Regions from separate parts of the Homo sapiens genome. Here regions 1 and 2 are each linked to region 3. The links are contacts of gene promoters, found by promoter capture Hi-C in blood cells and fetal thymus (Javierre and others, 2016). All regions are on one chromosome and are shown on one strand. The core of a region is centred on a gene start or on the middle of the fragment in contact, and the rest is flanking DNA. Distances in the headings are between cores, read along the strand shown. Region 1 overlaps LOC105370228 (a long non-coding RNA gene). Region 2 overlaps TDRD3 (tudor domain containing 3). Region 3 holds the start of DIAPH3-AS1 (DIAPH3 antisense RNA 1).

Region 1 (4,447 bases), core at 1,087-3,586, 320 kb after region 3:
TACTCTGCTAGTGCTCTACTAGAGCAATCTACATTTAGCTGTGTGTGATGTGCTTGTTTAAAGAGACCAAAGGAACATGGTGCCCTCAGGGAAGACGGCATCAGCTTCTTGAGTGGACCGTGGGTCACAGTTCCACGAGGTGATTAGCAGTGCTGTTTGGCAGTCTTAGAGGAGTATTCCAAAGAAATGTAAGACCAAACCTGGCAACCCTTATAGATTGGAGAATGCTTCCCTGAAAGGGGAAAAGAGGAAACTAGGAAACATTTGCATTTCATAATACACATGAATTGTTCGTAACATATAAGCATGATTTCATAGATAATCTTAAAAATAATCCAGTAATAATATGACACCGTGATAGCATTGTAAGTTAAAAAAAAAAAAATCACAAATCCGCTGGTAGCCTAACACCAACGAAACGTGGACAAATAACTTTTTGTTGAGAGTTACTCCTTTATCAGTAGCAACATTGTTGAGCTCTATTTGGAACCACAATGTATACATGAAGTAAAGTCTATTATTTGGAAATTTATAGATCAAATGAAAATAAGCCTACACTATAAGTTTAACCAAAGAATGCAAAATAAACTAGATTAATAATGATGAAGTGAACAGTCCTATATAATTAAAGAGTAAGACTAGTAGTGAAGAAAATTATGACTAACCCAACATAATACTGTTGATACACTGATGATAAAGGGTACTTTCAAAAAGCAGAAAGAATTTCAAGTATCTGCAATGTATAAATAGTGAGCAGTTTGCAAATTTGTTTAAAAGCCAGTAGAATGTTAATTTAGAGTCCCTAGTAAATTCCAAAATAAGTTTAATTTAATTTATGAATACCACATTGTAGTAATTCTTAGTAACTACTTACAAATTATTAACTCTCTTAGAAATGTTTTGGGCAGCATGTAATAGAAAACTCCAGCTGATATTGACCTAAGCCATAAGAATTCTTACTGTTTATGTAACAAAAGCCTGGAGGCATATGATTTGAGGATTAGATCAGCAGCTCCAGATTTTAGGGTACTTGCTTGATGTCTTTGTGATTATCTTGGACATCCCTGCAGCACCAGGCACCACATTCTCGGGCCTCAAAATTTAAAGACAAGAAGCAAGAGTGAGGCCAGAGTGGTGAGAGAGCTCCTCCCACAGGCCTGTTCCTGTTTATCAGGGAGAGAGAAACCTTTCCTAGAAGCCTGCCCATGAGACCTCTCAGGTCACGTTGGCCAGAACTGGGTCCATGGTCATGCAAGCTACAAGGGAGACCAGGAAAGTAAATATATGGGTTTTGTTTTGTTTTGTTGTTTTTTGTTTTGTTTTGTTTTTTTCCAGCTTCTAGAGAGGGAGAGATGAGCAAGGAAGAAGGAAGTTGGAAATGAGTGTTGGGCATCATTAATAAATGTTGGCCATGTTTTCTGTCTTAGTCTATTTGGGCTGCTATAACAAAATACCTTAGACTGGGTAATTTATAAACAATAAAAATGTATTGCTCACAGTTCTGGAGAATGAGAAGTTCAAGATCAAGGTGCCAGCTGATTTGGTGTCTCGTGAGTACCCATTCCTCAGAGGTGGTGCCTTCTATGTGTCCTCACATGGTAGAAGGGGGAAACGAGCTCTCTTAGGCCTCTTTTTTAAGGGCACTAATCCCACTCATGAGGGTGAATCCCTCTTGAAAAATCACCTCCTACAGGCTGCACATTTTAATTTTGTTGCATTGGGGATTAGGTTTCAACAAATGAATTCTCAGGGTATGGAAACATTTAGACCACAGGATTTTCCAAGTTTAGAAGCTCTTTCTCTGAATTTCTTACAACATGAAGCCAAGACTTCTTACATGGCAGGCCTTTCATGGGCCTATTCTCTAGCCTTCTCCCCACCTTCTCCCATAGACAACTGAGGTTCTGACCATTGTAAATGAATTGCAGTTCCTACACGTCAGCATCTGGACCTATACATTTACATCTTGGCTTTTCTATTCGCCCTTGAAAGAAACAGTCTGTGAAGTATGTTCCAGCCTTCTCTATAACCCCAGGAAAACTCCATTCTTTCCCCAGCATCCTGTATTCTTCTGTATCACTTGATCACATTGTTTTGTGTCTGTTTATTTGTGAGTCTTCCTCGCCAAACTCCAAAGGGGATTTTATTATGCTCACTTTGGGGCAGCACCTTGCACATTGCCAGGCATGGAATTATAGCTTCCTAAAGACTCCTTGAATGAAGGAATGGATGGATGAATATATAAATCTTTGGCCAGGCGCAGTGGCTCACGCCTGTAATCCCAGCACTTTGGGAGGCTGAGGCAGGCGGATCACTTGAGGTCAGGAGTTCAAGACCAGCCTGGCCAACATGGTGAAACCCCATCTCTACTAAAAATACAAAAATTAGCCGGGCCTGGTGGCACGTGCCTGTAATCCCAACCACTTGGGAGGCTGAGACAGGGGAATCGCTTGAACCTGGGAGTCTGAGGTTGCAGTGAGCCAAGATCGCACCACTGCACTCCAGCCTGGGCGACAGAGCAAGACTCCGTCTCAAAAAAAAAAAAAAAAATAGAAAGGAAAGGAGGGAGGGAAGGAAGGAAGGAAGATATAAATCTTTGGATTTAGTCCTTGCTGTCCTGTGTATGAATGTCCTGATATGAGCATAATTTTCTTTTTTTCTGCAGTTTTGCTCTCCTGCATATTTTCCCCTGGACACCCATCTTATCTGTGGAGCACAGCACCAACGGGCTGCTCCTTCTCTGGGCTGCTGATTTGTCCATTGTCAGTCCTCTGCAGGCTGCCTCCTAAGCCTCAGGTGCAGTCTGACACCTTGCTGCATTTCCTCTCTGCATTTACAGAGGATCTCCTCTGCGTTTTCTGCCTGTGATGCTACAGGGCAGCTCAATCTCAACAAGGCCCTGTCTGCTGCCTCCAAAAAGCCCTGTCCACTAAAGTAAGCCCGTTTCTTACCTCATCACTTTGTTACTAACTGTCTTTACTGATCACATTTTTCTCATTATATCTTCTAATAGGAGAGAATATTTTTCTTTATCAGAAAACGTTGTGTTATAAAAGAATAGAACTGATTTCCTATTTGAAGATTTTCACCACACCCAAAAGAGAAAACAAGAGAACACACAGTTTCTAAGGTTCTCCCTGGTTTCCTTACTTGCCTGGTCCCATTATGCCTGAGGAGGAGGGGTGGAAGGAGAGAGTTCAGCAGGAAACATTTCACTCTTTCCTGCCTCTTATTTATTTATAATTTTGAGAGTGCTCTGTCTCCAGGAGGGAAGTAATGCTTCTCTTCTCAAATTTCTCACTGACTTTCAAATGGGCTTAAATACTGATTTCTTTAGACTTCTGACCTAATGTATTCTACACAATATGAATCTGAGGTTCGATTTCTAGGTGGGTGGGTAAGAGGTGGAAAGGGTTTGTACTCAGAGCTCAGAACTGAGAACAAGTTGAAAGATTTGCCAATGTACAGGGGAACAAAAAGTGTGCAGAGGTCTCAGGAGTGCAGGCTTCTCTGCTACAACATGAGTTTTCATAACTTGAGCTGACTTTAATATGATTGATTCATTAGGGAACATTGTATTTTGTAGATTGCATTGGCTATAATTGGACAGAGATTGGGAATTAGCACCAATCAGAGCAAAACTGCTGTTCTGGTTGCAGCCAAGTTTGTTTAAATGGCTGGGTGATAAGATGGCTGATGAAGGCGGTAAGTGCTATCTTTAGATAAGCACTGAGCTAATTGGTATTTCTGGAGGTTACTGGAAAAGAAAAGCAATTAGTTCTGCGGTGACACAGAACCGGTCTTCCAAAAATATGGGGAAATTTTTAGTTTTTAAAATAGTGTGGGTGGGAGATTTATTGGCAATAAGTGGGTAGAGACCAGAGATGCTAAACTTGCAATGCACAGGACAGACCTACACAAGGAAGAATTGGCTTGCCACAAATCTAAAATTCCAAAAGTTGCATGTCCCTAATCTTCTGCCCCAAGGATGGGTATACCAGCTGGAGAGAAAGCAATATTTTGGGTTTATAGCTGTACATGAAATTATTAAAGGAAAGCCTTTATTCTGGACATCTTGAAGTCAAAATCCTATGGTTCCTTCAGCATCTTTCTCACTGAAACAAAAGTTGGTGTTTATCAAAGCTATTTTTTCTTTTAGGTAACAGGAATTTTCTTAAGAAGACAACTAAAAATCTCTTTTAGCAGGGCAGGTGGTAAAAGAGGAAGTCCTTCCCAGTACTTGAAATATTACAGATTCCCTTACCTAGAAGTGGAGTTTACTGTACTTGTCAGTTTTCCCCTCCACTTTGGGCAATATTTCAGTTCAAAAGAAAACTGCTGTGTGAGAGGGAAAGGTCGACCAACTTATGCTTCTTTTAGATGGTATCAGTAAATCTGAAGTATCTTCAATTTGCCTTCACTTTAGAATAAAATTTAGCTTACTATA
Region 2 (4,319 bases), core at 1,117-3,616, 410 kb after region 3:
GAAAAGGTGCTCAAGATCACGAATGATCAGGGACATGCAAATTGAAACCACTATGATGTATCACCTCACACCTATAAGGATGGCTATTATCAAAAAAGATACAAGATAACAAATGTTGGCAGGGGTGTGGAGAAACACCCTAGTACACCGTTGATGGGAATGTAGATGGGTACAGCCCTTGTGGAAAACAGTATGGAAACTCCTAAAGAAATTAAAAATAGAACTACAGTATGACCTAGCAATCCCTATTCTGAGTATATATCCAAAGAAGATGAAATCACTACCTCATAAAGATATTTGCACTTCCAAGTTTATTGCAGCAGTAGTCACAGTAGCCAAGCTATGGAAACAATCTAATGTCCATCGATGGAAAAATGAATAAAGAAAATGTGGTATATACAGTTGATCTTGAACAGTACGGATTTGAACTGTGTGAGTTCACTTATACGTGGATTTTCTTTGATTTCTACCATGCCACCACTGAGACAGCAAGACCAACCCCTCCTCTTCTTCCTCCTCCTCAGCCTACTCAACATGAAGACAATGAGGATGAAGACCTTAATGATGGTCTCTTTCCACATAATGAACAGTAAATATGTTTTCCATATGGTTTTTGTAACATTTTCTTTTTATTGTAGGAATATAGTACATTATACATATACAAAATATGTATTAATTGACTATGTTATTGGTAAGGCTTCTGGTCAGCAGTGGGCTATTAGTAGTTAAGTTTTTAGGGAGTCAGAATTTATACTCAGATTTTCAACTGTGCAGGGGTTGGTGCTGCTAACACCCGAGTTCAAGGGTGACTTGTATTTACAATGGGATATAATTGAGCCTTTAAAAAGAAGGAGATCCTGCCGTTTCTCACCCATGAATGGACCTATAGGATGTTATGCTAAGTGAAAAAAGCCAGACACAGAAAGAAAAGTATTATGTGATCTTACTTATATGTGCAATATTATAAACCAAAAAAGAGCTCAAATATAGAAATAGAGAATGAAACAGTGGTTACCACAGGCAGTGGGGAGGGCAGAGGAAATGGGGAGATGTGGGTCCAAGGACAAAAAATAGATCTGTAGGATGAACAAGTTGAGAGATGTACAACATGAGGACTAAAGTTATTAAAATTAGAGATTTTTATTAAATAAGTAGATATTAGCTGCCCTTGTCACACACAAAAAGTAACTGTGAGATGATAGATATGTTAATAAGCTTCACTATGGTAACTATTTTACTATCTATATGTATCCTGTAACATCATGTTGTAAACCTTGAATATACACAATAAAAATTTTTTTAAATGTCATGAGACACTTTGCAAATAATTCTAAAAACCTATATGAAATGGGTAGTTTTCTAGGAAAGTACAGATGACCAAAGTTGCCCCCATTAGAGTTAGAAAGCTTAAGCAGACCAATGTTATAGAAGAAATAGAGAAAATTAAGGAGAGATTACTCCATAAAAGCACCAAGGGACAAATGGTTTCACAGAGGAATTCTATAAAACCTTCACATACCATATACTGTCATTCATCACTTTATGGGGTATGTTCTAGAAATGTGTTCTCAAGCAACTTTGTCACTGTGGGAACGTCACAGAGTGTTCTTACACAAACCTTAATGGTATTGCCGACTACGCGCATAGGCTATATGGCATAGCCTGTTGCTCCTAGGCTACCAACCTGTACAGCATGTTATCGTACTGAATACTGTGGGCAATTGTAACACAATTTAGTATTGTGTACGTATTTATGTATTTAAACATATTTGTATATTAAAAAATATGTAAACATAGAAAAGATACAGTAAAAATACAGTATTTTAATCTTAGAGGACCACAGTCATATATGTATCTGTCATTGACCAAAATGTTATGTGGAGTGTGACTGTATTGAAAACTTTTTTTTCTTAAGAGCAAATAGCTGTAATATCCACTTTAAATCTTTATTATTTTCAGCATCAGGTTCATCTTGGCATCAGACAGATTTGATTGATTTTGTTTTTTCTTCAGAATGTGTTCCATTTTTTCGTTCTTTGTATGTTGGGTAATTTTGGATTTTGTAGTGCATATTAATAGTGTTAAATTGTAAAGATTTTTGTTCTGTTTTACACTGATGAATATTGTTTCCTGTGTTATTAAAGGTACTTTTTTTTTGTGGGGAGGCTGGGTTTGAACTGCAGTTTCGTTTCTAATGCAGCAGCTCCATCCTCTTTTCAAATCTTTTGTCTTCAGCTGGGATGTTTGGAGTCGGCTTCGCACGTGTCATTTGGAGGTCAGTCAGGTGTAGGTAGACAGAGTTTGGTGATCCCCTCTCTACGTCTTTCCTTTGACTGATCTCTCCACACTGTTCAGTGCTCCTGGTTTACCCACTATCCTTTTCTGTATAATAAGAAGGGCCACTGACACTCTGTGTAATTTGTATTTTCTTATTTATAGACTTAAGCTAACCAATAAGGTTCACTGAAAGTATTCATTCAGGAAGAGATAATGAATCAAGGCATTTTAAGTTGAATAGAAAATGTCCTTCTAGATTCTAAGCTAAGGGATGGATGGCCTTTCAAAATAATGTTTTTTATTTAATTAAATCAATACTTCTCAAGTAATTACTGGAATTTGTAATGGGTATATTTATTTCCTGTGGCTGCGGTAGCAAATTACCACAAGCTGGGTGGCTTAAAACAATTGAAATTTATTCACTTAACAGTTCTGGAGATCAGAAGTCTGAAATCAAAATGTCTTTGGAGCTGTTCTCCCTGCAGAGGCTTTAGGGGAGAATCAGTAACTTACCCCTTACAGCTTCTGTGGTTGCTGACATTCCTTGGCTTGAGGCATCATCAGTCCAGTTTCTGCCTCCAGCTTCATATGGCCTTTTACTTTTCTGTGTGTCACTTTACTCTGTGTGTTTATTTTTAAACTCCCTCTGCCTCTCTCCTATAAAAACACTTGTCATTGGATTTAGGACCTGCCTGGATTATCTAGTATGATTTTCTTATTTCAAAGTTCTTAATTTAATTACTTCTGTAAAGACTGTCTCTAAATAAAGTAACATTCACAGATTCCCAGGCATTAGGACATAAGCATATCTTTTTGTGGGCCACCATTCAGGCTACTATGAAGAGGTATGGGGGATGTAGTCAAATTATGTTTTCTAAGTTAATATAGGGGCCAAGGGAAAATTTTCCCTTCTGCCTCTGAAGGTTTGCTGAAGATCAGCTGAAGAAAGGCCGATTAATAGCAGAGGCATGCAAAATTAATTTTATCGTGCATAGCACAAGGGAATTACAAGAGAATGATTGTTTATACAATAGTGCAGTGGGGGTACAGAAGCTTATATACTCTTCACAGAGGAAAGGGAGATGTGGATAATTTTAAGGTGAAAAGTGATTTTTAGGGGAATTCAATGGGCTTGGAGAACATACGTCTTGAGACATACGTCCTCGTGCATCCTGAGACAAAGCCTTGTGGGCCCACAGAGAAGACAGTGGTTCTGTCCAGGTGTGTTGACAGACTTCAGTCTTTATTCCTGCAGTATGAGTTAATGAAAACTCAAGGAAAGGACCAGTGGTAATTTTCTTCTTTGAAGAGTCTGGAGTTTAAGCAGATAAGGGAGTATCAGAGTAAAGCTTCTTCTAGTATCTGCCAGTCTCCAAGGGCCTTTAATTTAAAATAATCAGCATACCAGGGTGCCATATTTTGGGGTGAAATTTCCTGGTCTCCTTCAATAGAAAAAAATATCTAATTTATTTGCAGCATTTCTATTTCAAAAATGTAAGCAACACTAAGCACTTTGTATTTAAGATGCATTTTAAAGAAATGGAAATGAGAATTACTAATTCATATTTATCAGCTGACATATATATGGGACTATTTCACTCTTTTGACAAAAAATTTATTGTTTAGTATTTACCTGTTTAGTGACACATTTAAATGGCTGCCCTTTTTAATTGTAATATTGTGCTTTTTATATGCCTCTTTCATTTTTTACTTCATTTTAATGTACAGGGAATCGTTATGCTATTAGATTGTAAGACATATGATTGCATATACTAGAAACAAATAGGTATTTGTCTTAACTGCCTATGATAATTGAAGTAGATTTTCATTTTTAAGAGTTTGAATGACATTAAATAAATTTTAAATGTAAATTGTAAAATGGCTAATTTTTCTCTGTGCAATATAATTTTAAACTTTATTGCTTACTAGCTCTTTCTTGACATTATTGTTTTAAATTTTGACATAAATGGCAGGTTGAACAAAAACAATAGCAGTTCATTTTGCATTAGAAATTCTGTTCCAGGCAGAAACAGTTGCACAGT
Region 3 (4,476 bases), core at 1,758-4,257:
TATCCAACCATCAAGCCGAACCTGCTCAATCCCACCAACTCCAGCAGGACCTCCACAAGGCTGATTTTCAAACGAACACAGGAGGCTCCCCTTACAGGACTCTGCCAACCCCTACATATGGGGGATATTTCTGTTAGTTCTTTTGCCTGTTTAGTTTTTACATTTTTATCTTTTTTAAAAGGCATTTTAAATAATTTTTAAATGCTTCCTGATAATTAGAACCCTAATTTTTAAAAATCTTTATCTTTATAATTATCTTTAATATGTATGTAATGGTATTTAATTATACTCCTAACAAATGTGGTTAAGTTCTTTACAGCTCTAGTGTGTGCTTTATGCTCAAGGACTTTGTACCCTCAACCAGTAAACTACTATTACATAAATCACTTTCTAATCTGCCTTATATATAGATTTCCAAATCGTAATATGTTTGCTTTTACAAGGGGATAGAGAAGACCTACAGTTTGAAATAATTCTATGTGGGGAAAAAAAATCACATAAGAAATAGAACCATTTGTATATTTTCAAAGCCTCCATTTAGAATTTTTTTTAATTTAGGGTTTCAGTTAAAAAAACAGTTTAAATATGATAAGGAAATCAGTTTTTCATAGAAGTATGTTAGACCATAACTAATAAATCAATTAAGAGAAATAATTACTCAAAAATTTCCAGCCAATAAGAAACTATATTAGCTGCTTAAATATACCTCAACATTTATTTAAATTCTAGTAAATTCTAGCCTAGAGTAGATAATGAAACATTAAATGAATCAATCTGTATTAAATTATTATATAATTAGGGGAATATGTTGATAACACTTACATGCTTTCTTCCCCTACAATGCATACCGCAGAGAGAAGTTTAACCACATCTGTCATCATATTGGGGTGTCTGGGATCCACGGCTTTGGCCAATAAGGAAAGGCTCCTCTCCTCACTCATAATTCTTTCCAAGCCATACTATAATATTTTGAAAATAAGAGGTCAAATGTTAGAAATTAGTTAGAAAAATAATACCCTGAAGGAAATGTAGTTATTAAAAAAAATTTATAGGACATTTTTACACTTACTAAAGCTAAAAAATATAGACTGTGTAACACTCTAAAAAGTTCATGGCTGGGCACGGTGGTTCACGCCTGTAATCCCAGAACTTTGGGAGGCAGAGGCGGGCAGATTACCTGAGGTCGGGAGTTTGAGACCAGCCTGAGCAACATGGAGAAACCCCCTCTCTACTAAAAATACAAAATTAGCCAGGCATGGTGGTGCATGCCTGTAATCTCAGCTACTCGGTAGGCTGAGGCAGGAGAATCACTTGGACCCGAGAGGTGGACATTGCAGTAAGCCAAGATCACGCCATTGCACTCCAGCCTGGGCAACAAGAGCAAAACTCCGTCTCAAAAAAAAAATAAAATAAAAAGTTCATAAGGGTATTCACTTTATGTCAAGAACCACAAAACTAAACCAAATAAAGATAACTCAAGGTGATCTTACAACAATACAGCTGACAATTATTAAGACAGGTTAAGTAGCCAAATTGAGAAAGTGGGAAGCAGTCAGAAACATGGGATTTGCCAACAGAAGCATATGAAACAAACAGCCAGATACGGAACCAGACACTGAGGCCATGAAAATCTTTTTCCTGGGAAGGAAGGTTGGTAAGAGATATATTATCATAAGCAAACACACAGATCAACACTGTCCAAGAGAAATATAATGTAAACCACATGAGTAATTTAAAAATTTCAAGCAAGCAAAACTATTTTCAATAAAATTAATCCAATATACCCCAAATATTACCATTTCAACATATAACCAATATAAAACATTTATTGATGACATTTCACTTCTTTTTCTTCCTAAATAGTTGAAATCCAGTGTGTATTTTATACTGTAGCACATCTCAATTCAGACTAGCCACACTTCAAATGCTCAGAAGCCACATGTAGCTACCATATTACAAAATACAGGCCTAGATATTAGCACTTAGTTCATAAATAAGCAAAAACTGAAGGATGATTTGAGCAGATACCATGTAGAAACTGCCACAATGGGCACAGGTATTCTAATCACAATGGTATTTATTATAAGGAAAACAATGCAGTTGTAAACTCATTCTATAAATGAGACGATTGGGATTAGGATAAAGTTTATTTACTACTGCCAGGAAGTCAAATCCAATTAGAAGATAAGTTATGTTAATGATGTATCTATGAAAGATAACTGTCAAAATACAGAAGATGAATAGAAACAATAAAACAGTACTATTTATCTAGCATGCATCTCAGAGGATCCTACTAAAGCATGAGAACTGACTAATCAGAGTTACTACCAAACACTAAAAAAGGGCCTTATTCCCAATTACAAGCCTATGAACTAAACTCAAAATCAGCACTACATGTAAGCATTGAAGTTGAATCTATAACCAGCTTAGACCCAAGTACTTTGATTGTGATAAAATCCTATTTATAACTTTCCTATCTTGTATATGGCCATTTATGCAAAGAAACCTTGTACTGGGCTGAAATACTCCATTTACTTTAAACCACTATCTGAGAAACACAGGAACAATGGAGAAAGTATGAGGAAAGGCCAAGGGCCCAAGAATATGAATTTTGGAGAGATTACTCTGTCTTGTTAGTAATAGGGAAAAGTTTACAACAAGACAGCTAAACAGTCAGGAAATACTTACTTTTATGATAGCCTGGGCTATTACCTAACTGGAAAAAGAATGAAAAGGCAGGCACAGGACCAGAAACTACAATATGCCTTGCTAATCATTCCAGGGAATTGTCAGGTTTATAAAGTACCACTTAGATTCAATTCAGAAAGTCAGTCAATGATTACCAAGTACACAAGAGCTGGCTCTGTCCTAATAAATCTGGGAATTGAGTAAAGCTTGCCTCTAGCATTTCCCCTTCTTTTCCCACCTACCTGGTTGTCCTTAGCTAACACCTGCCCTTCTAGAATCAGAATCCTGTGACTCCTCCAGCCACCCAAGGTGACTCATGCTGACTTCCTCCAAGTGATACTACCTGCCTTCTCTGCCAAACCCTCTGGCCCTAACCTATCATGTATGAAAGGTGAAATAGGAGCATACTCTGATTTCACAGTTTTAACCATCATCCTGTGACCCCAAAAGTCCATCACAGGTAACGTTCTCTGATTTTGGTAATGCAAAAATGTGTCACACTCATTTTAAGACTGGAATGAGGCCAATTACTACTACTCAGTATCTATAAATACAGAATTGCTACTTGTATAAATTACTCTCAATTATTTAAAAAACATAGCAAAACAAAACAAAAACTGTTGACTCTGTGTGAGAAGTTGTCAACTTACCAGTGCTCGGATTAAAGTGCATTTAATGAGGGCTGTTTTAGGTTAGAGAGGCATGACAAATTTTGAAAGGTCTAAGGATGTATCTTTCCTGAATGTCAAGGACCCACTCCGGACAATATGGTAACTGGCCTGTTCTAAACTGAGGATCAATGCCAGGTTCCGCCTGCATTCCACATGAGGCCTATTATTAGCTAATAGATGGAATTTCAGGCACTGAAGATGATGTTTTAGGTAGAGGAAAGTTAATGCTCTAAATCCTCGTGTAGGACGCCCAACATCTGGACGCACACAGCATGACTACTAGTGCTGAGCAGCCACCCACAGTGAGTTAATCCCAGTAGCAGAAATAATGTGGTTAAAGTTGCTGGCTTCAGAAGCAAAGCACCCGCACCTTGGGTGCACTCTTCAAAGCAACACACACAGTTAACTGACCAAACTGAAGTCTCTGTTCTAATTACCTTTCAATTTGAATATACTAACTTTTCATCCTTATTATCTTTTCTTTCCCCTACGCAATTAAAATTCTCTTCCATTTAAAAAATACTCTTAGTCCAATTTAATGTTATAAGAAATTCACTTTCATGTAATGTTATCAAATTTGCCCATTAATTGTATAATTAATTACTAGTACCAAATAAGGTACCACATTTTTTTCCTCTTAAAACTTATATTTTCACCATTCAATGAATGCTAATAAAGACTGTATAAGTGAGGTTTAACAAATTTTGTACTTATAGATGTGATCAAATAAAGATTAAGACAACCATTAACCAATCTTGAAGGGAAAAAAAACTTCACCAAAAATTTCACATATTGCTAGGTTTAGAGTTCAGACACTATAATACTAAGTAACAATAACTTAAATTAACTTTTTATTCTTAATAACACAGATAAAAGCACCAAATAAAATGGCAATATTTTATAGCTCCATGTATATAAACTACAAGCAACAAAAATCTCTTAAGAGAAAAATAGTATATTAATTAGAAAATAAAGTTCAATCTTCCTCAGATTCATTATGAAACAAAGTAAGAATATTATCTTCTATTTACCACCTTAATTTAACCATGATATTCTTCTTAAATTCAAATTATGATCCAAATGTCCCTTTGGTTTAAAAAAAGTTCCTAGATTTTTT

What was found. The method cuts DNA at HindIII sites, captures the fragments that hold promoters and counts their contacts. A CHiCAGO score of 5 or more calls a contact.
Region 1: a fragment that was not itself captured here is called in contact with the fragment with the promoter of DIAPH3-AS1 in region 3 in 1 of 17 cell types (erythroblasts); the score reaches 6.5 in erythroblasts.
Region 2: a fragment that was not itself captured here is called in contact with the fragment with the promoter of DIAPH3-AS1 in region 3 in 1 of 17 cell types (M1 macrophages); the score reaches 5.7 in M1 macrophages.

Annotation. Positions count from the first base shown.
Region 1 is chr13:60,328,648-60,333,094 of GRCh38, forward strand. All of the region lies in intron 1 of LOC105370228 (a long non-coding RNA gene), which reads left to right. Among named protein-coding and RNA genes, the nearest start is that of LINC00434, 63 kb to the left of the region's middle. RefSeq lists a silencer at 1,052-1,121. The HindIII fragment of the contact is 6,341 bases long and covers 1-4,447 here.
Region 2 is chr13:60,425,254-60,429,572 of GRCh38, forward strand. All of the region lies in intron 1 of TDRD3 (tudor domain containing 3), which reads left to right. LOC124903178 (a long non-coding RNA gene) reads right to left here. Exons shown (of 3, transcript XR_007063814.1): 3 at 3,633-3,719. Among named protein-coding and RNA genes, the nearest start is that of TDRD3, 30 kb to the left of the region's middle. The HindIII fragment of the contact is 1,924 bases long and covers 1,405-3,328 here.
Region 3 is chr13:60,009,711-60,014,186 of GRCh38, forward strand. DIAPH3-AS1 (DIAPH3 antisense RNA 1) reads left to right here and starts at 3,008. Exons shown (of 5, transcript NR_109838.1): 1 at 3,008-3,148. It overlaps DIAPH3 (diaphanous related formin 3), which reads right to left. Exons shown (of 28, transcript NM_001042517.2): 8 at 823-959. The HindIII fragment of the contact is 1,896 bases long and covers 2,893-4,476 here.